6 separate regions of the Homo sapiens genome follow, and all the other regions are linked to region 4. Evidence: promoter capture Hi-C in 16 types of primary human blood cells and fetal thymus (Javierre and others, 2016). All regions are on one chromosome and are shown on one strand. Each heading gives the region's core, a stretch centred on a gene start or on the middle of the fragment in contact. The rest is flanking DNA. Distances are from core to core; before and after follow the strand shown. Region 1 overlaps PRC1 (protein regulator of cytokinesis 1). Region 2 overlaps MCTP2 (multiple C2 and transmembrane domain containing 2). Region 3 has its middle 4.8 kb from the start of MCTP2. Region 4 holds the start of CHASERR (CHD2 adjacent suppressive regulatory RNA). Region 5 holds the start of HDDC3 (HD domain containing 3). Region 6 overlaps MCTP2 (multiple C2 and transmembrane domain containing 2).

Region 1 (3,243 bases), core at 568-3,067, 1.9 Mb before region 4:
AATTTTTTTTTTTTTTTTTTTTTTTAAGGTTTGCCATGTTGCTCAGGCTGGTCTTGAACTCCTGGGCCCAAGCAATCCTCCCACCTCGGCCTCCCAAAGTGTTGGGATAACAGACATGAGCCACTGCACCCGGCCCCTCAGTTTAACAGAGTTCATACAACTCAGCAATTTTATTACTGGGTATTTGCCCAAAAGAAATGAAAACACATTTATACAAAAACTACACAACTGTTTATAGCAGCATTACTTATAATAGCCAAAAAGTGAAAAAAAAAATACAAATGGCCATCAACTTATGAATGGGTAAATAAAATGTAGTATATAGGCATACAATGGAATATTATTTGGCAATAAACCTTGAAAACATTATGTTAAGTCAAAGAAGCAAGTCACAAAAGACCAGAGCTACGGTTCCGTTTTTATGAAATATCCAGAATAGGTAAAAAGTAGATTTGGGGTTTGTATGGTTTTTTGAGACAGGGTCTCCCTCTTTCACCTAGGCTGGAGTGCAGTAACATGATCATGGCTCACTGCAGCCCCAACTTCCTAGGCTCAGGTGATCCTCCCACCTGAGCCTCCGGAGTAGCTGGGACTACAGATGTGAGCCACCACACCCAGCTAACTTAAACAATAAAATTTTTTTTTAGGCCGGGTGCGGTGGATCACTCCTGTAATCCCAGCACTTTGGGTGCCAAGACCGGCGGATCACGAGGTCAGGAGTTTGAGACCAGCCTGGCCAATATGGTGAAACCCCGTCTCTACTAAAAATACAAAAATTAGCTGGGTGTGGTGGTGGGCACCTGTAATCTCAGCTACTCGGGAGGCTGAGGCAGGAGAATTGCTTGAATCCGGGAGGTGGAGGTTGCAGTGACCTGAGATCACGTCACTGCACTCCAGCCTGGGTGACAGAGTGAGACTCCATCTCAAAAAATAAAATAAAATAAAATAAAAAATAAAATAAATAAATAAATAAATAAATAATTTTTTTTTTTTTTTTAAGAGGTAGAGTCTCTCTATGTTGCCCAAGCTGTTCTTGAACTCCTGGGCTCAAGTAGTCCTCCCACCTTGGGCTCCCAAAGTGCTGGAATTATAGGTGTGCGCCACCTTGCCTAGCCGAAAAGTAGATTTGTAGTTGCGGCTGGGGAGAATTTGGACCATGGGGTGAAAGGGGATTGACTGCTAATGGGATTTTAAAGGGGTGATAAAAATGTTCTAAAATTGATTGCAGTGATGATTGCACAACTCTGAATATTCTAAAAATCACTGAATTATAATATACAATTTAAGTACATTGTATGGTATGTGGATTATACCTCAAAGCTGTTATTAAAAACATCTTGGCACATAATCTAAAACATTTTTGGTTTCTTTTTTTTTTCTTTTTTTGAGACAGAGTCTCAGTCTGGCACCCAGGCCGGAGTGCAATGGTGTGATCTCAGCTCACTGCAACCTCTGCCTTCTGGGATCAAGCGATTCTCCTGCCTCAGCCTCCTGAGTAGCTGGGACTACAGGCACACGGCACCACGCCCGGCTAATTTTTGTATTTTTAGTAGAGACGGGGTTTCACCATGTTGGTCAGGCTGGTCTCAAACTCCTGACCTCGTGATCCGACCGCCTCGGCCTCCCAAAGTGCTGGGATTACAGGCGTGAGCCACTGTGCCCGGCCCATAATCTGAAATGTTTTTGATTTGTGACTTAATTGAAAAACTTACAGATTTTTACTATGGCCGGGCGCGGTGGCTCGTGTGCAATCCCAGCACTTTGGGAGGCCAAGGCGGGCGGATCACCTGAGATCAGGAGCTCGAGACCAGCCTGGCCAACATGGTGAAACCCCATCTCTACTAGAAATACAAAAATTAGCTGGGCGTGGTAGTGGGTGCCTGTAATCCCAGATACTCAGGAGGCTGAGGCAGGAGAATCACTTGAACCCGGTGAACCCAGGAGGCGGAGGTTGCAGTGAGCTGAGATCATGCCATTGCACTCCAGCCTGGGCAACAGAGCAAGACTGTCTCCAAAAAAAAAAAGAAATAAAAATTTTACTAATATATAACGTATTTTATTTGGCCTGTTGGAAATGGGTGTTTGGAATTACCAAACACCCATTATTATTATTCTAGTTAGAGACACTTCCTGTAAGAGGATCATTTTCAAATTAAAAACTAACATTTCTCACTCTTCCTAACATTCAAATTGTACTGAACTTAATTTTTTTTTTAAACTTAAATCTTGTATCATCCTTGACACTTCTTTCTTATATGCCCGCCATTAGCATTATCTACACAAGACAGGCAGAATCTCACTCCTCCTGACCTCTGCTGCTACCACTACCACCCCCACCCTGGTCCAGGTCACCACCACCAACTTCTTGCTGTATGGCAGGGGCCTCTTAACTGGTCTCCCGGCTTCGAAGCTGGCCTCCTTAAGTCCATTGTCAACACAGGAGCCCCAAGTCCTAATCTTCTACTCAGAACCCTCCAACGACTTGCCATCTCACTCTAAGGAAAAGCCTCTGACTTTCCAAAGACCTATGGAGCCCCATTCCATCTGAAAGCCATTTCTTTTGACCTCAGTGCTCATTCTATTCCTGTCACAGCGACCTCCTTGCTCTTTCTGGAACATACCAGGCGCTATCTCCCCTTAGGGCACTTGGATTTGCTGATTCCTCTACCTAGATCTCTTTTCCCCCATGCTGCATGGCTTCACCCTTTTCCTTCTTAGGTCTTTGCTCAGAGATCACCTTCTCAGGGAGGCCTTTCCTGACCCATCTCTTTAAAACCACAACCCCCCTTCCTACACCTTCAGTACTTCTTAACCTCTTGATTTCTCTACATAGCACTTACCACCATTTAAGACTAACTTATTTATTACACTCCTCTTTTGCTATTAGAATATAAACTCTGTGAGGGCAGGGATGTCACTTTTGCTCACTGCTATATCCCCAACACTTGCAATGGTTCCTTGTATATAACAAACATTCAAGAAGTATTTTTCTTTTCTTTTTTAGTATAAATTATTATTTTTTAAATAGAGACAGGGTCTTGCTATGTTGCCCAGGCTGGTCTTGAACTCCTGGGCTCAAGTCATCCTCCCACCTTGGCCTCCCAAAGTGCTGGGATTACAGGTGTGAGCCACTGTGCCAGGCCCAAGAAGTCTTTTTGAATGAATAACGTGACATTTCAAAAAAGTTGTATGATCTTAAGATGCTTCAGAGCAATCATTATGAACAATTATCATGATACACTT
Region 2 (3,214 bases), core at 185-2,684, 1.4 Mb after region 4:
TCCTTAAGCTGTTCTCCTACAAAATATGGGACTCCTTTCAGATAGCCAGTCTCAGTACATAGCTGCAAAACTTTGCATGATGTTGTTTAAATTGAGAGGCTATTTTGATGTCATGAGTGAGTATCAGGAAGGCAGACCATCACAAGAATTGGGTCTTTTCTGTGAGCAAGAGACTTAGAGAAGTAAGGGACCTTTCTGAAAAGAAGCACAACTTGCCCATGTTCCTCTTTCCTGAGTGGACCCAACAGGCAGTGGTTAATGTGAGATACGGTGTATAGTTTTGTATTTCCAGCAATGCTGAAATCTGAATAACCAGGAAGCTAAAAATGAAGAAACAAATCATAAATCAAAGAACCTTTGATACTTCTCCTTCCTTCCACTGGTCTTCTTCCTTGGACTCGTCCTGCGTGGAACATATTCCACACAGCAGACACTATGATCCTTTGAAAATCCATGACAAATCAAATCAATCAATCCTCTGACCAACCTTCACCTCCTCTCCTCCCTGACTTCCCAATTCACTTAAAATAAAACCTCAAGTCTTTGCTGGCCCTCATCCCTTCTCTGACATCATCTTATTCTGTCACTGATAGATCAGGCAGATCTGGCTCTGTTGACCTCTTTGCTGTTAGAAGCAAGGAACATGTTCTGGCTTTGGGGCTTTGCATGGATCCATTCCTATTTTTGGAATCCTCTTTCTCAAATAGTGTTTCTCATTCTTGTCACTTAAGTCTCTGCTCACATGCTCCCTCATCCTCTGTGGGATGGCTTCATCCCTCTTCAAACATATATATCCTCATGGGAACACTAGCTTCCCAAAGGCAGGACCCTTGTCTGATTTGACCACTGAGTTGATGAATTTGTAAGAAGCCAAGTCAGGCTTTGAAAGCAGATTCCTAGCATCCATTGAAAGGAGGAATTTTGAGGGTAGATGCTAGATTAGACAAAATTCAACCTTATCTCCCATATATTTTGCGTGTGGTAACAGTGGTGTATGTTCCCTACAATGCCCTGGTAGCATTACAAAGAAAAATTGTTTGGGCTTTTTCAGAACTATCACATTTTAAAAATATTTGTTGTCATTTTCTTTGTTGTTTTTTTTTTTTTTTTTTTTTTTTTTTTTTTTTTTGAGACGGAGTCTTGCTCTGTCACCCAGGCTGGAGTGCAGCGGCATGATCTCGGCCCAATGCAGTCTCTGCCTCCTAGGTTCGAGCGATTCTCCTGCCTCAGCTTCCTGAGTAGCTGGGATTACAGGTGTGTGCCACCATGCCCAGCTAATTTTTGTATTTTTAGTAGAGACGGGGTTTTACCATGTTGGCCAGGCTGGTCTTGAACTCTTAACCTTGTGATCTGCCCTCCTCGGCCTCCCAAAGTGTCAGGATTACAGGCGTGAGCCACCGTGCCTGGCCCATTTTCTTTTTTAAGATGGAATCATGCTCTGCCGCCCAGGCTGGGGTGCAGTGGTGCGATCTTCTCAGGGCTCACTGCAACCTCCATCTCCTGAGTTCAAGCAATTCTCTTGTGTCAGCCTCCTGAGTACAGCACCTGCCACCATGTCATTTTTTTTTTTTTTTTTTTTTAGTAGAGATGAGGTTTTACCATGTAGGCCAGGCTGGTCTCGAACCCCTGACCTCAAGTAACCTGCCTGTCTCGTCCTCCCAAAGTGCTGGGATTACAGGTGTGAGCCACTGTGCCTGGCCACATATTGAACATTTATGTGCTCAAATCCCAGGAGGGTTTCTAATTCCTTGGTTACTTAATAATGTCACAACTAAATGAATGCTTCAGTTATCCAGATTTCTCTAAGCCCAGGTTATGGTAAACAGATTTATTTCTATATTGTGAGTTTGAATTTCTTTTCTAATTATGAGTGACTCCTCTCTCAAAGGACATGCAAATCTTTTTATCCTGCCTCTGCCCCATCACCTGGGTCCACAAAAAAGCATCTGTGTCTACTTCTGAAAATGCAAATTATTTGAATGTGCCAGAGTAAGTAAAAAGGAAGTGGTGCATGCATGGTGTAGTTTGTAAATGTAAGAGTGACTTGAGACAGATGAGATCCTTTATTGAAATTAATAGTTAATGAATTTTCCCAAGAGAAACACCATTTAGTAGAGGTGACAATGGTAGTTACCGAAAACCCTATTTAAATCACGCTTGCCTTAAAAAACTAAAAACCAAAAAACCAAAAAAATCTTGTCTATTTCATCTTGTCTGGTTTGCATTATGTTCATTACCTGATTCTTCTTTCTAAAAGGAGAGATACAGTTCTGAAAATAGTTATTGCCTAAAGGGAGAAAACAAATTCTTTTCCTGGTATTGCAGTTTTGTTATTTGTTTTCCAACAGGTTAAAGGATTTAATTATTCAGATGCTCTAGAACTGTTCTCTGCATATTCTTTTGATCATACGCCCTATCAAGCAGGTACTTTTTGAGCAGACACACCCAATATATAAGTTTACATATTTACTTATAAATTATGTACATGTACTATGGTGCTGATAATATATATACATTATTCAGCATACACTAAAATAGAGATTAAAAGAACACATTAAGTCAGTGTGAATGGAAGTTCCAATATTTTCTTCCTACACTCTGTGGCTATGCTGGACTCTCCCTGGGCCATGCTCACTCAGTTCACTCTGGGGACCCCCTTCACCCCACCCAGCCTAGTCCAGGTCATGGGATTGCAGGACCTGAATAAAAACACACCATTAGTACTCATACTCTGCCTAGGGAGGCTAAGGGAAGAAAAGTTTGCTAAAGGTCCTGAATAAAGCTCATCGAACTCCAAATTCTTCACCTTTAAAGAGAACATGCTACAGTGCACAGCCTGGCACCTGGGGCAGAGTGGTGATCAGGAAGGGGAAATTGATGTTCTCCTCCTATTTCTGCTGCTGTTCTGTTACTGCAGCTGTTAACTGCTAGTTCATAAATCTTTTATCTAAAAATTCACAATTCAGAAACTTTTGCAAATGGAAAGGATTTTGTTTGTAAGAATCCTTACCAGGGTTTGGTAGCAAACTCTGACTTGGACTCTTGTGTAACTATTTCTGTTCTATGTAGTAGTTATATATCCCATTAAGTTTGAATTGTGATATGTTTGATGATGAAATACTGTCTCCAAACCATTTAGGGTATTGTGTAATATATGATACACTCTCTAAATTCTTAAATTTCTGAACTCCAAAAACAAACCTGGCCCAAGGTT
Region 3 (3,553 bases), core at 679-3,178, 1.3 Mb after region 4:
AAGCAGAGTATTGCTGTATTTCAAAAAACTGCAGTGACAGCCACACCTTGAGGAAAGTGTGATTCCAAAGAAAAAAATCAATTTTCTTGTCTGACTTACATTACAACTATAGATAGTACAAACTTTGATTATATTGGGCTCATTATCATCATTACTTATATAATCAGACCGTTCTTTTTGACTTGTCTACCTTATTTATCTTCACACTTTCTGGTCTTCTTGTCCTGATGGTCCATAGTAGTTTTGTCTTGCCAATTTAAATTCCAGCTTGCTTCCCCCCACTGTTCATTGATCACTTGATTTTCCATTTTTAATTTCCACCCTTCTGACTTCCAGTCACACTTTTCATGGTGCTGCTAATTCTGCCTTTTATTCGCCTGCCATGTTTCATCATTAAGTGACCATGGAAGTTTCTATCTTGCAGAGGACACGAGCCTCCCTGAGCACATCTTGCTAAAATGTGCACTTTAGAACTACCTAGAACATGGGCAGCCAGCAGGATAATGTGTCCACATGCATTTTAAATGTGGATCTCTGAGCCTACTCCTTGTTACTTTACTTCCAGCTCTCAAAGAAATATTGCTTAACAAAATTGTATTTCAGTGATGTACTAAAATACGAATAATATGTTCAGGTGCAACAATATGATGTTGGGATTTGGTTGGTTCTCAAGAGAAGTGATTGGTTTTCATTGCTGGAGAAGATAGTCTTTCAGAAACGAGGCATTACAGACACAAAACTTAACAGAGACCCAGAATAGTTTAATCTGCTGTATGAACACATAGCCAGGATTCTGTTCATAGTTTTGTGGATTCCTTGAGCATATTTTGCCAATGAATGTGTATGAAAGCAGTACACATAGTTTGAAATATAAAGCCAGGGTTTTCAGATGAGAGGTGCTGGAATAGAACTACATTTTGCAAAGTAATGAAGTAGGGCTCACTTTCACCAAAAACCATCAGGGATAAGGAGGCAGGTCACAGCCCACACTGAAGGTGGATGCAAAGGTCACTGTAGAAAGTTCTAAACTACAACTGAGAAGATGTCTGATATTAACAAATGAAGCTACTCCTTTCCCTTTAAAATATCTAAAATATATTTTTGTGCTGACTGAATTAGGTTTTCCTTATTCTTCTCCATTTTAAAGTCAGCTGAATAGAAGTTCAACCTAATCAAAGTTTACTTTTTAAAAGAACAAGCCCTTTAGAGAATGTGTAATTTTTCATTATAGTTGGGTATTTCTCAGTAGGAAAAATGAAAAACTTTAGCACATACTGGAAATTAAGAAATTAAGAAATTAACTTAGTCTTAAGGTCAGATTACTTACTGTCTTATTTTCTACTTTGGATTTTTTCAGGAAGTGGCAACAATTGTCACTACAAAGACGTGCCTAAAAAAAAATCAGTAAAGCAGGCAGGTGCCTACCAGGTTGGTTTGCAAATGTCCTTATGCACTTAATAAGACCTTGTCTATTTCCTGACTACTTTTCAATCCATTAATTAGTGATGTTGTACTTTCTTTGTAGGTTATCATTAGAGGCAGTAATGGGAGACTGGATGAATGAAAACTTATGCAAATTATACATCCCAACCAGTCACAAAGACAGACTGGAGACGTCAAGTCCAAAATTTGTTAATGTCCTCAGCCATAGACATAGTTATTATTTCTCCACATTTGTCTATATTTTGATTTTCTGATTAAGATTATGGAAATACTGCTAGATGGCTGGCTTCATTTATTGAACTGATCTTTGTCTGCCAGTTGAGTCTGTACTTATCTCAATTGTGTAAGCCAGGTTTCACCCATGAAGACTCCCTTTTTTCATCACTTGGGACTGACTGGGGTCCCGGTTTCTGCTGATTCTCTGGTGTATTTTCTACCTGGTTTTTTACACCACTTGCTGGGCTCTGCAGGTGCTACTATCAAGGCCTCTTCACTCTGACACTCTATTGTGTTTATCTGTTTACACATCTAGCGAAAATGTGAGCCATTGGAGGGCAGAAGCTATCATATTTGTGTTATATCCACAGAGTTTATCACAGAGCTTAATATATGGATCAGGGGATTCAAACTGGTTGCCAGGCTTTCGGCCACCTGTATTTTTTAGCCAGCACAGGGTTAACAATAAGTAAATTTGAATGTCTTTAGGTGGGCCTACTCTCTGCTATTTGCCACAGTCTCTATCTTCTTATATGTGACCACAGTCAATCTCTATTTCACCAGTCTCACCCATGTAGGCACCCTAGTTTGTGGTCCTGGTTGTAGATGATGAATACATGCTAATTATGTGAATGAATACATCAATGAATGTACTTCTTATTTTGCATGGAGAATTGATTGTTATCTAAATATTCTTGTCCTGAAAATTCCCCTAGTTTCATCTCTCATTTTGGAAAATACAGGTAGAAAAACAGATAACTGTAATGTGCAATGCACAAATAAGCATTTCTGAATACTTGCCAGAGGTGAGCCACTCTGTGCATTCTAGTGGCTCAATTAGAGAGGAAAACAAATTCAACTGTGTTATTTGCAGAACCCATAAGATGCAAACAAACCATTTGTTGTGGAAAAGCTCAAGATTTTTGTATCTGAGATGAGTGATAACTTCTACCTTGGATCATCTTAAAACAGGCAGTGTAATTTTAAAAAACAATGACCCCGACCAACATGCCAAATGTATGTTCAACAACGTATTTCCCAAGGTAGATTCTTAAGATACCCCCCACTATTGCCAATGACAACACACTAGAGAACAATTCAATAAATGTGATTTGGGGCCACAGAAATTCTCTACAGTATGAACCTCTCCCCTGGCCTAGGGGAAGTTTTAAGCAATTAACTGAATGAAATTCAGATCGTCAGACAAAAATGTTGGTACTGAGATAGTAATCTTGGGCAAAGTTAACCTTCATCTGAAGAAGTAAATTTGGTTCTTCTTTACCCATCTAATGAATGGCAGACTCAGTCTCTTAAGAGTTAACTCCAAGCCTCTAATAATTTTAACTTTTCAGAAGCAACCACTACCAGATGTTCATTTTGGCCATAAAAGTTCCCACCCAATAAAGGTACAACATCCATAAAAGTCGATCTTTGAACAACTTACTACCTGTGAACATTTCCAGCTAATCAGCTTGTGTTAAATACATGTTTAGGTATTTGAAAGAAAAGAACTTGATACATAGAATCATCATTAGGACAATTCAATGCTGATGTTGATTTCCAAAGAGATTTTATAAGAAGTCTTTCTGAATAATTAGAGAATAGGACTCATTTTCTGTTAGGTCCATTCTTTTGTTCAAGAAAGTGAAGCCTACAGGATAAACTCGTAACTAGTAAGTGGCAGAGCTAGGTCTGGAGTGAGTCACTAAATTTGGTCTCTCCACACCTGCCTATAAAAAGGGGATAACATGATAATTATACCAAAGGAAAAAAAATCCTGAGTACATATAATAACAAAGACTATTTGCACTAACAATAAAAGAAGTACCATTTCTCAACGCCACGTAACAGAGTGCATATTCTTCCTTAAAGCACACACTAAAATAAACATTTG
Region 4 (3,761 bases), core at 1-2,500:
AGAGAGCTACCTCTTTTTTTTTTCCCCATCCATTTCAGGAAAGTTTAGGTTTTCATTTTTTTCCTATGGTCTTCTTAGAGTTGTTTCCACGTTAAAGTAGGAAGAAGTAACGAAAAAAAAGTGAGATTTGCCGAAAGCAAATGAAACTTGTTTTGCCTGGTTCTCTGGAAGGAGGTTGAAAAGGTAGACTATGATTTTTCAGGTTCAAACTGCTACTCTAACAAACATTGTCCTACAGGGTGGAATCCAGTCAACCGGTATTGAGATTGATTCGCTAAGGCCTCAGGACACTGGACATTCTTTTTAATTGTTTTTTTTGATTTCCATGACGACAGCTCACAAGACACTAGACATTCTTTTAGGCTCTCAGGTAAATGCGCAACAGGCAGTCTACAAATCCACAAATAAATCGCATCTCAACTCGGATACTGGGGCTAGGGAATGTGCTGATGGTAAAACCATTGGTCCTGACTGTGTGACCTTCATGGAAGGCCTGGGTGCTTAGAACAAATATTTTGAGGATATGGCTGCTTGCCCAAGGGCTGTGGGCCTGTATCTTGTTTGCTCATCATCCTGTCAGTCATTTTTTTCTTTCCCTTTTTTTAAAGACAAAATCTGAACCTAGAAACACCGAAGCCAGAGCTTTTTCTAGACGCGAATCCACTATTTGTGCGACCCTGCACTAACCATTCTAGCCTGGCCTAGACCATACCAGGAACCCTCCAGCTAGCCTGGAGGGGTCCGCACTGCGGGGAAAAAAGCAACAGCTCAGCTCCAACCCCAAAGGTTCCATCACCAGCCAATCGTGGCCCGGGGCTTCTCAAGAAAACCAGAAACGCCTACGGACAGTGAATGGCACTAAGGCCAGCCTATCCGCACGAAGGAGGCGGAAGGGGTGGTGTTGAAATTAACCAATAGAATGGAAGAAGTTGTTGTTGGGAGGGAGGAAGACGCCAGCTAACGTGCGTGAGGCCGCTCCCGGATAGGGGATGCAGGAAGCTCGTGGAGCCAATGGCCGCGGCGGGCGGGCGGCGGCGCGCGTGCGCGTTGGCCCCCGGGCCTGCGGGCGGGAGGCGGGGATGGTGGGGGAGGGGAGCGGGCTGGAGCGCGGCGGAGCTCCTGCCGCCGCCGCAGCCGCTGCCGCCGCAGCGAAGAGGCCATGTTGTGTGGTGTGTGGGGCGGGGGGAGGAGGAGGAGGGAGTAAAGCCTAGAGAGGAGACGGGAGAGAGACACCACACACACGGCACAAGATGGCCGGAGAGGCAGCAGCACCCCGAGCTGTCAGGCGTTCCGCCGCGGCCGCGAGGCCCGCCGGCCGGCGGGGAGCTACGCCCGGACGGCCAGCAGGCCCGCGGGAGTGGGGCTGCCGCGGCTGAGGCGAGGCGGGCCGCGCGCGTCGGCGTCACAGCCCGCGGCAGAGGCGCCCAGGGCGGCCGGGCCCACGACGCCGAAAGCGCCGCTGCGGTTGCCGCCTCGGAGGCTCCCCCGGGCCCCGGCGGCTGGACCCGGCGCGGGCGGGAGGCTCGGGCGGGCGGTCCGGCCCGGGACTCGGGTTTGGGCGACCAGGAGGTGCCGGTGGCCGCGCTCGGACCCGGTGAGTGGCTCCCTAGCTCCTTTTATTGTCCTTTGTCCTTGGGAGGAAAAGCAAAATGTCCTTGAGCGCGCGAGCAGGAGGGGGCGGCGGGCCGGGCCTCGCCGCTCGGCTCTTCTCGCACTGCCCCTCCGTGGTCGGGGGCCGGCTCTCGCCGGCGGGATGCGCCTCGGTGCCCTGGGCCCGAGTCGTAGGGTCCTGGGGTAGGGGGCACGCGGGGCCCCGCTGCAGAGCCCGCGGGCGGCAGGTGGGCGGGGGGCAGCCTCGTCGCCGGGACTGGATCCGCCGGGAAAGGGGCGGCGGGTGAATGCCGGCGAGAGCCCGAAGGGGATCGGGCGTGGAGAGCCCCTTTCTGTCCTGGTGAGTTATTTTGATATTTAGGGTAAAAAAATCCCTTTCAGGTTCTCCAACGGAGGAGCTTTTTAACCTCTTTCCGGTGAGGTGGGAACTCATCTTCATGATCGAATTTAAAAGAACAATGGAACCCTGACTACGTTTCAACAAAAATAAAACTTGTTTTTTTCCCTCCTATTGGGTGTTGGCTTTTAACTCTTTCAAAGCCGATTTTGAAACGGCTGCAGTGATACATGCGAAGGTACTTGCTGCTTATTAAACCTTTATGACGTTAAGGTTGTCTTTGAAAAATGCAAGTTGGAGGAGTGCTTCTGGTATTTCAGAATTACGAAGACAAGTTTACTGTGTCGTCAAGGCTGTTTAATGGAAATAGATTTGATAATTACGGTGCTAGCTAGCTGATGACGTTTGGTTAATGTAGTTTATTTTACCGAGTAATGACGCCAAGATCATTTGATCTCCTGATATTTAAATATGATTAAATACACTGTTTGGTACTTTTTAAAAAGGTCTCAAGGAGCCGTTATCTGCAACTTCTCACACCTGAATGTTAGAACGTACTTGGGTCAATTCCTAGTCTTTAAAAGTTCATAATTTAATTATTTTTAAGAATTTATATTATCACAAGCCATGATCGAAAAACTTTCACAAAAGAACATTCTGACACCAAATCTCTTCCTGAAGTTACTTTCTCGTAATGTAAATATGAATAAAGTAGGACTGCTCTCGGTAATGGGCGATGAAGAGGAGCCATATTTGTTGCATTTGTTGCATGTATAAAAATCTAGATATGCTTAAAACGGAACAGTATTTTAAAAGTACAGGTTTCATAAAATTTAGTAGAGTTCTCTGTATAGTCTCTAATCTTAGAAAAATGTTGGAAGGGTAATTTTTAAGTGTAGTGGTTTGAAGAACAAACCAGAAGCGCACAAACCTTTGTGTATTTTAGAATATATTTGTCTTCATTCTGCGGAGCTCTTGTGTTGTAAAGGTGCAGAACTACGTAAAAATAGTGTTGGGCAGACTTACATAGTACATCTGAAATCAGATACTGGTTTATTCGACCATATTTCTAAGGGCATTTTTCCAGTAAAATTGTTTTATTTTTTGAGTAGCCTTCCTATAGTGGTACATGTTACATCAGTTGCGCATATCTTGATTTTACAGAATCTGTCTTAAGTACCAATTTTGGTTTTTCAAATCAATGTTTCTGAAATTTTTGAACACTGAAAGTGGTTTTAAATGAATATTCTGAATCTAGTTCTTTAGAATCCTCTTTGAATTGTGAAATGCAAAATAATTGTTAGCAGTTTAACCTGAAAGATCTTTTTACATGATAAATGGGGGAGGAGAAAGACTGAAATGAAAATGTTGAAGACCCTGATTTGAAATTGAGTGTAAAGGTCTAGATACTGTAAGTTTTAGAGTAGCTTTAGAGACAAAGCTAGTATCCCACTTGGTGAGATCAAGTAACTTGTGGTTTAAAATTTAAAGTAACCAGTGGCCATTTTAACTTCACTAATTTCTCTTGGAGGAGCTAATTTTTAATTGCTCATGATTGTAAAACATACTTCCGGATGGTAAGGGAGATGTTAAGATGATTTGTCTTGAAGAATGGTAAACTTTTTCTTTGTTTATTGCCTGTCATAAAAAGAGGGAAAGTAAAAAAAAAAAGGTTCATAATCTTAAATCAGTCCAAAAATTTGAATTTTCTGTATTTCTGTTTAATTCAATGCGTTAATCTTTAGCATTGGTCAATACAGCCAAAAGATGAGGAAAACAAAGACTGATAGATACTAAGATAAGAAATAACTGC
Region 5 (3,572 bases), core at 663-3,162, 2.0 Mb before region 4:
GGGATTACAGGCGAGAGACACCGCGCCTGGCCCCCTTCCAACTTTCTTAACGGGAAAGGCTGCTACCATTTCTTGAGCACCTATGTGTCAGGCTCCATCAGGCACGTCACAGTCTAACCTGATAATTACACAACCCATGTCACTGACAAGGAAGCCAGGTTCGGAGGGGTTGAGGCCCGCAACCTGAGGGAGGTGACTCCGGGACACACAATTAGTCCTGCTTTGCTGAAGGAAAGATATGCAGCCCACCAGTCGGAGGCTGGAGAAGGAGCAGCAGCAGCTTAAACCTTAACCCAGAGTTATTTTTATTTTCCAGAACGTGTTAGGAACTAGTACTTAAATAATCTCAAGTCCCTGAGGGGCCAGAGATCCCACCATGCAAAATAGCAAACAGACCCAAGACTTGGGGAGAGGCGGTGAGTGCATCAGAAATGGATGGGTACATCTGATTCCCACCACGCGGGGCTCAGCTTAGTTAGCAGGAGACCTTCAGACTGAGAAAAAATGCAAGTCTTTTTTTGGCCTCTAATATCTGGGAAGGATGGAGGGAGCTCAGGAGACACAGAAAAGATGGCGTATGAATCCTGTCCGGCCTGAACGAGGCTGGAGTTGTGCCTCTGGATAGCTTCAAGCACTGATCAGATTGTCAGCCCCCGCTGCTTGAACAGATGCTTTAGAGCCTCTTCCAGTTGCCGGTTTGTTCCCTGAAGCCCCTTCACCACCTGCGCTGCCCACTCGAAGTATTCCTGGACTCGATGTTCTGACCATCCTGCATAAGAGTCGACAGAAACTTGCTAGCGTGATGTCAAGGAAAGCACTGCCTTTTCCCCACTTCCTGGCAAGCTTGGTTCAAGGCCATGAGTTCCTGATGGAATGAGCTGTCCTGAAAACTTCCCCTTGGCCCAGCTATTGTATTTTTACTGTATGAAAGAAGATCAAAGAGTGGTCCAGTAGGATTAATTTGGGAATTAAGAATGCCCAGGGTTTTTCAGGGGAACTGACCAACATGTGTCTTCAGAAGGCGGCATCCCCCTCCCTTTTCCCTTACAGCCCATACGAAAGCGTACCCTCTGGGGTGCAGCGATTCAGGTCCCTCAGATTGTACAGCTTGTCTGCCAGCTTCACCAGTTTGGCCCCGGGGCTACTGTGGGGCGCTTGCTCCACCTGCAGCCTCTTTCTCTCCAGCTTGGGCAGAGTCTTGTCATCTGTTACCTCCTCCACCAGGCGCCGCACTTGTGCCCCAAAGTGTAGCTCCACCTCATCCAGGGTGGTGTCTGTGTCCTCCACCGTGTCATGGAGCAGGGCCGCCTGGGGACAAGTTCCCACTCAGCCCTGAGATGTCAGCCAAGGGTTGCCCATTGCTGAATGGGGCCCCTAATCCCCATCCCAGGCTCCTGGCAGAGAAGGGGGAAAGTTACCTGTAACACCACAATGTCAGTGATTCCCGCCTCGTGGGTCAGGATCCGTGCCACACCTGACGGGGAGGGGCAAAGCAGGAAGTCAGGTCGGAGGTAGTCCCAAGGCGGTGTGTTGTGGGTTTTGGAGAGCCAGATGTGGCCCCTTGTGGACTCTGACTAGCTGGGTGACCTTGGTCAAGTACCTTACCCTCTGGGAGCCAACCGACAAAGGGAACGATCATGCCTACCGTTCCAATTGTTATGAGGCTTAAACGGTATATCGCACTAAGCTTGGGACAAAACAGGTGCTCAATGAGGTGCACGCCCCCCACGTTTCCTTCCCAGTCCCCACCACCCAGGTGCCGCAGCCGGCGCTCCGCGGCCGACGCGCCCACCGATGGGGTGGTTGATGTAGGGGGTCCCCTCGGGGTCCTTCCGCCGCTGCTGCCGGTGCTTGCGAGCCGCGAAGTCGGCAGCCTCCAGCAGCTGCGCCGCCTCAGAGCCCATCGCGCGGATGGGGCCGACGACTGCGGCCGCAGGGGCAGGGACGGAACGTTTACAGCGCCCCCTGGCGCCGGGGAGGCCCGGGGATCGTGGAGGCTAATTCAGCGGGCCGAGTTGGGCCTGCCCCAGATGAATTCCTCTGGAGCTGACCGGCCCGCGCAGAGAGCAAGTGATGTGGACAGCTGCCTTCAGCATCGCAGCCCCCAGCTCAGTGTGCTCTGTTGGGGGTGCAAGAAGAACATAAGCCTGGCTCTTTGGGAGCCCACAGTCTGTGGAAAAGAGGAAGACAGACAAGAAATAAGGCAGTGGCCTCACAGTGCTCTGAATCCAGGGTGGCCAAGGCTCAGGGGACTATGGGAGCGGGAAGAAAGAACAATCCCCACACCCTCAGAGTCAGAGACAGCTTCTCCCAGAAGCTCCCCCCAAGAACCATCTTCAACCTGTAAAAGCTCTGAAAATTCTCCAAGTGTTCTAAAAATAGTTCTCCCTGTAGGGATGGGCCAGGTTCTGTGGGCAGGGGAGTCTACCTTTGGACCCTCCAGGAGACCCTAGGGCCTGACCTGAAAAATCAGAGCCTTCCCTGGGAGCCCTGCCTAATTGCTTCAGACTTAGGCTCCCAGGTAGCTGTGACGTTTCTGCAGGAACTGCCTTTGTTTGTCCTCAGTGTTGCAGATGAAATTTGCCTTGTCTTCTTATGCTATGAGAGCTCCTATTTCAGTCTCTAGGCATCTTCTGTGGGCCCCTGGGGTGATGAGTGTTGTCACTGCTGTCCTGGGAGCATGATGTTGTCAGGCCTGGGTAGGCACTGGAATAACACTTAATTCTGCTGGCTGGTGGCCTTCTGGAGAAATTCCCTGCCTTAGGGGCAGCTGAGGGGTAAGAGAGACCTGGTGATCCCCATAGAACTTCTCTGTGAGAGGGGGTTCCCTATTAGCTAAGTATACTCTAATCAGACATGTAGCTTTTGTGTTCTGGCTGGTAGCTGGGGCAGATAAGGCTCAGGGGAAAGGCTAATGAAAGGAGTCACCCTTGGTTTTCAGCTAGTCTTGGTGGTTGCCACGTAGCAGAGGTTAGGGAGGGAAGCCCCACATGCTGGAACTGAGGTCTCTGGGACCTGAAATAGGAGGGTCAGAATTCCCAGAGCTTCCATGGCAGCCTGGAAGTTGGAGAATGGGTAGAAACATATTTGGCTGTAAATGCTTGTTTGTTCTTCATACTAATGGCTCAGCTGCTCTCTCATCCCTCATTCTGTCCTCTAGTCCTTTGAGCCTTCTCTCCTTCAGCAGTTTGGCAATGCAGGCCCCACGTTTTCCAACAGGAGACAGAAACCCAGTCCCTGTCATCTCTCTCTAAAAGCCTGTGATAGAGAAGCTTCAGGCTCGTATTAATGGTGCCCAAGGGCCTTGGGGCTTTGACTTTTATTTCCTTATTGTCTGCAGTCACGGCCTAGAAAGAGAGATGTTGGGGTTCCCAGGACCAGGACAGAGGTGGTAGTGAACTCTCATGGGCATCCAGAGAAGGTCAGGCCCCTTGCTGACAGGCCTATCTGTGGGGCTACTGCTGCTCTTCAGCTGGGTGACCCTTGTCCAGCCAACCTCTCTCTCAGGTACAGCACTTACCCCTGTGGCCCACCTGCCTCTGGTGCTATGGGCTATTCCTGGGAACTGGAAC
Region 6 (3,540 bases), core at 72-2,571, 1.4 Mb after region 4:
CTCTCCCCTAGGATTCCTAAGCTTTGATCTGCACAGTAACACCAGGGAGATTGGTTGGAAGGCAGATTCTTGGGACTCACGTTCATCTCCTGTGGTGGAGCCCAGGACTGTCTACTTTTATTTATATTTATTTATTTTGAAACTTTTTTCTCTTTATTTTTCTTTTCTTTTCCTTTTTTTTTTTTTTTTTTTTTTTTTTTTGAGACAGTCTTACTCCATCACCCAGGCTGGAGTGCAGTGGCGCAATCTCAGCTCACTGCAACCTCCGCCTCCTCGGTTCAAGCAATTCTTGTGCCTCAGCCTCTCAGTTCCTGGCATTACAGGTATGAACCACCATACCTGGCTAATTATTTATATTTTTAGTAGAGATGGGATTCTGCCATGTTGGCCAGGCTGGTCTCGAACTCCTGACCTCAAGCCATCCACCCGCCTTGGCCTCCCAAAGTGCTGGGATTACAGGTATGAGCCACCACACCTGGCCGGGACTGGGTATTTTTAAAGACACAATCTTGATGAGTCTCTTTGGGGTGCTGTAGGGAACCTCTTTGAGAAATTCTATAGAGCCAGGAATTTAAACTTGTAATATATCTGTCTGTCTGTCTCCATCTCGATAGCTCTCATTACTTGTGTTGAAACACATATGGCTCCACCTAACTGTTTTAAGCATTGTACAGTATCCCACTGTGTGAGCGCATCTGAAGCTGCTCCCACAGAAACCACAGTGCTGCTTCTCTGGGCTATGTTCAGGTATACTTTATTTCACACATGTGCTGAGTCTTCAGCAGCAGCCGCTGCATGACATATGGGTCATTCCCAAACTTCAATCTCATTATTTTTGCTGAGAAGGTACTGGCCACCTTCTCCATTTTTATGTTTTCCATATATATTACTTTCTTTACAACGGACTTTTCAGTTATTTAAATATTTTTTCTTTCAGCTTTAGATTTTTAGTTCATCAAAATGTTTCTTCTGTCAAAAATTCTATCTGTACAAAAAAATAGCTGGGCATGGTGGCGTGTGTCTGTAGTCCCAGCTATTTGGGAGGCTGAACTGGGAGGGTCGCTTGAGCCCAGGAGTTCGAGGCCGCAGTGAGCTGTGATCGTGCCATTGCACTCCAGCCTGGGCAACTGGAGTGAGACCCTGACTCAAAAAAAAAAAAAATTCTGTCTGGTTGTAATTAGTGTGGAATTTGTATAAATTCTTTTTCTCAGATGTCTCAATTGCATTGTTTTAATTTCCACATACATGATACATTTTTTCAAGACTCTGCTCTGTGTCCTGAGTTTCTCATAGTACCTGTCACATTGTGGGTCCTCTGGTTGTATTAGCTGGTTTGACACTTCCCATTTCTTACAGATTCCTCCCAGGTCTCCATAGAGTGCTACCCTACTCTCCTTCATTAAATGCTAATTGAAGGAAAATATTGCTATATGAAAATAGAAGCAATGCCTTTTATCGTATTTGCAAGTCAAGTTATGAGATGTGAATTGAATGTACTTGCGTATTGCTAACGTGAAATTCAAGTTTCTGTTTAGGATAACGTTTTTAAAAGCTGCAAAAAAAGTTGTAAACTATTTTAAACATTTAAAGCCAAAATGACCCAATACAAAGTAATTGAAACAATTTTAAAAGTCGCTAACATTGTATTAAACATTTACTCCATACCTAGCACTGTTCTAGATACCAAAGCACTTTCTGTGTATTAGTCCATTCAGTCCTCACCGCAGCCTCCCGAGGTACTTACTGTTAAACTCATCTGTAACATGGGAATAACAGTGAGACACAGAACTCTTACATAACTTGATTAAGATATCCAAACAAGAAATGATGAGAATAATGATAGAGACACCTTTCTGTGTCTGAGCACTTTAAAGCATCAGACACTGTGCTTTCTACTTTGTGTCATCGTATCTGTAAACTAGGTAATCTCGTCCCCACTGGGTGGGTGAGGCAATGGAGGCTTAGTGAAGTGACTTGCACCTGGTCCTACCTCTAAGTAGAACAGAGTAAATCAGAATTGTAACCCATGGAGTCTGTTTTGAGAGGCCAAGCTCTTAATCTTTACATTGTCTGCAGAAGATACCAAGTTCATCCTGGGAGAAGCTCTTGTCATGCGCTGGTCATTAGGCAAGGGCTATAGAGACAAAGTCCTGACTTTTAGCAGGCAAATGGCTGCACACACCCTGATCTCTGGCTCTCTGGACCATTCTTCACAATGATAAACTGTCCTCTCCTTGAAGGAGCTGGGGTGGGGCACAACAGCCAGGGTCCTTGATTTTAGAAAATGTGATTTGTGGAAGCTCTTGGCCTCTTTTGGCCTCAGCCAAATGTGGCAAAATACAAACAGGCCAGGTCTCAGTGTCTGCCCATCCTGTTCTTTTTCATACTGAAAGGATTTATTATGAGGCATGTGACACATAAAATAAGGGTTATTTCTGCAAATTTGATTTTGATTTGATCCGTGATGAGTTCAACCTGTTATATCCCAAATCACCACTTTCCTCCACAGCATTTACCCTACTCTGTAATTACGTATTTACTGTATGTGTGAAGCATCCTTATCCCTCATAACCAACTGCTAGTGAGCCACACTTTCATTCACATTCTCAGGCTACATCTCAGAAGCTTGCTTTGTTTAAGGGCTTCATTATGGGAATTTTGTCATTTCTTCTGAATAAGAACAAAACTCACATTTTTATAAATGTGTTTTGCTCTAATCACCTGTATGTGAATATAAATTTGAAAGATACTAGATGGAATCCTAGTCGATAGGGCCATGTTTTTGTTCTTGAAAACGTACACTTAATTCTGGGAAGGAAGTTGACATGGTTAAAGCAGGGATCAGCAAGCCACAGTCTGCTGGGTTTGCAAAGTTTTATTACAACACAGCCACATTCTTTCATTTAGGTATTCTGTCTGTCTCCTTTGATGTCGCACAGCAGAGTTGAGTAGTAGCGACAGACACCATCTGGCCCACCAAGTCTAAAATATTTAATAACTGGCCCTGCACTGAGACTGTTTGTTGACCTCCGGTTTAGAGAAGTAGAAAGTCCCCACCCCTTGATCATACTGAAGAACAGCTGCTGTTGGTGTTCTCGTGAATGTCTTTAGCTCCGCTTCCTCTGGGAAGGAAATAAGACAGTTATCTCTTCATGAAGCATTTTTTTTTTTTGGTGCCAACCTTATCATCTCATTCTTCGTTTTAATGTTTCTACAGTTGCTCTGATAAAATTCTTTTAAAAAGTTCTTTAAAAATGCTTTCCCCAATATTTATACAAGTTACCAATCAAATGTTGCAGTCTTAATCATTTATTGGAAACTGTAAGATTTTTGAGTCGTGTTTCTCACTTTGATGTGCCTTACTGCCACCAAGAAGGTTCATGTTTTTTTTTTTTGTTTGTTTGTTTTTTGTTGTTTTTTTCTGTTTTATAGGAGTCATTGCAGTTTTCAGTAGAGGTGTACTTCTGAGAAGTGGCTTCTTGGGTCTTCATGCAGCCATGGATCTGGATAAACCATCTGTTTGGGGCTCATTAAAACAGC

Evidence for each region. Contacts are between HindIII fragments. The CHiCAGO score rates a contact against its expected background, and 5 or more counts as called.
Region 1: a fragment that was not itself captured here is called in contact with the fragment with the promoter of CHASERR in region 4 in 1 of 17 cell types (fetal thymus); the score reaches 8.6 in fetal thymus.
Region 2: a fragment that was not itself captured here is called in contact with the fragment with the promoter of CHASERR in region 4 in 1 of 17 cell types (erythroblasts); the score reaches 5.9 in erythroblasts.
Region 3: a contact is called between a fragment that was not itself captured here and the fragment with the promoter of CHASERR in region 4, in 1 of 17 cell types (erythroblasts). The highest score is 5.6, in erythroblasts.
Region 5: the fragment with the promoter of HDDC3 here is called in contact with the fragment with the promoter of CHASERR in region 4 in 1 of 17 cell types (erythroblasts); the score reaches 9.2 in erythroblasts.
Region 6: a contact is called between a fragment that was not itself captured here and the fragment with the promoter of CHASERR in region 4, in 1 of 17 cell types (M0 macrophages). The highest score is 6.2, in M0 macrophages.

Annotation. Positions count from the first base shown.
Region 1 is chr15:90,989,411-90,992,653 of GRCh38, forward strand. The region is part of intron 1 of PRC1 (protein regulator of cytokinesis 1); the gene reads right to left. Among named protein-coding and RNA genes, the nearest start is that of PRC1, 3.5 kb to the right of the region's middle. The HindIII fragment of the contact is 7,498 bases long and covers 1-3,243 here.
Region 2 is chr15:94,256,476-94,259,689 of GRCh38, forward strand. The region is part of intron 1 of MCTP2 (multiple C2 and transmembrane domain containing 2); the gene reads left to right. Among named protein-coding and RNA genes, the nearest start is that of MCTP2, 27 kb to the left of the region's middle. The HindIII fragment of the contact is 3,628 bases long and covers 1-3,214 here.
Region 3 is chr15:94,225,009-94,228,561 of GRCh38, forward strand. No RefSeq gene overlaps it. Among named protein-coding and RNA genes, the nearest start is that of MCTP2, 4.8 kb to the right of the region's middle. The HindIII fragment of the contact is 5,783 bases long and covers 1-3,553 here.
Region 4 is chr15:92,881,593-92,885,353 of GRCh38, forward strand. CHASERR (CHD2 adjacent suppressive regulatory RNA) reads left to right here and starts at 1,251. Exons shown (of 6, transcript NR_037601.1): 1 at 1,251-1,594; 2 at 1,993-2,186. RefSeq lists enhancers at 578-667, 1,093-1,734 and silencers at 978-1,107, 1,728-1,977. The HindIII fragment of the contact is 7,161 bases long and covers 1-3,761 here.
Region 5 is chr15:90,930,637-90,934,208 of GRCh38, forward strand. It overlaps HDDC3 (HD domain containing 3), which reads right to left and starts at 1,913. Exons shown (of 4, transcript NM_001286451.2): 1 at 1,793-1,913; 2 at 1,419-1,474; 3 at 1,068-1,308; 4 at 1-769. The coding sequence starts at 1,904. The coding sequence ends at 639. It also overlaps a transcript of UNC45A not described here. RefSeq lists enhancers at 1,081-1,310, 2,061-2,110. The HindIII fragment of the contact is 1,585 bases long and covers 1,686-3,270 here.
Region 6 is chr15:94,294,769-94,298,308 of GRCh38, forward strand. MCTP2 (multiple C2 and transmembrane domain containing 2) reads left to right here. Exons shown (of 23, transcript NM_001385001.1): 2 at 3,433-3,540. The coding sequence starts at 3,498. Among named protein-coding and RNA genes, the nearest start is that of MCTP2, 65 kb to the left of the region's middle. The HindIII fragment of the contact is 2,604 bases long and covers 20-2,623 here.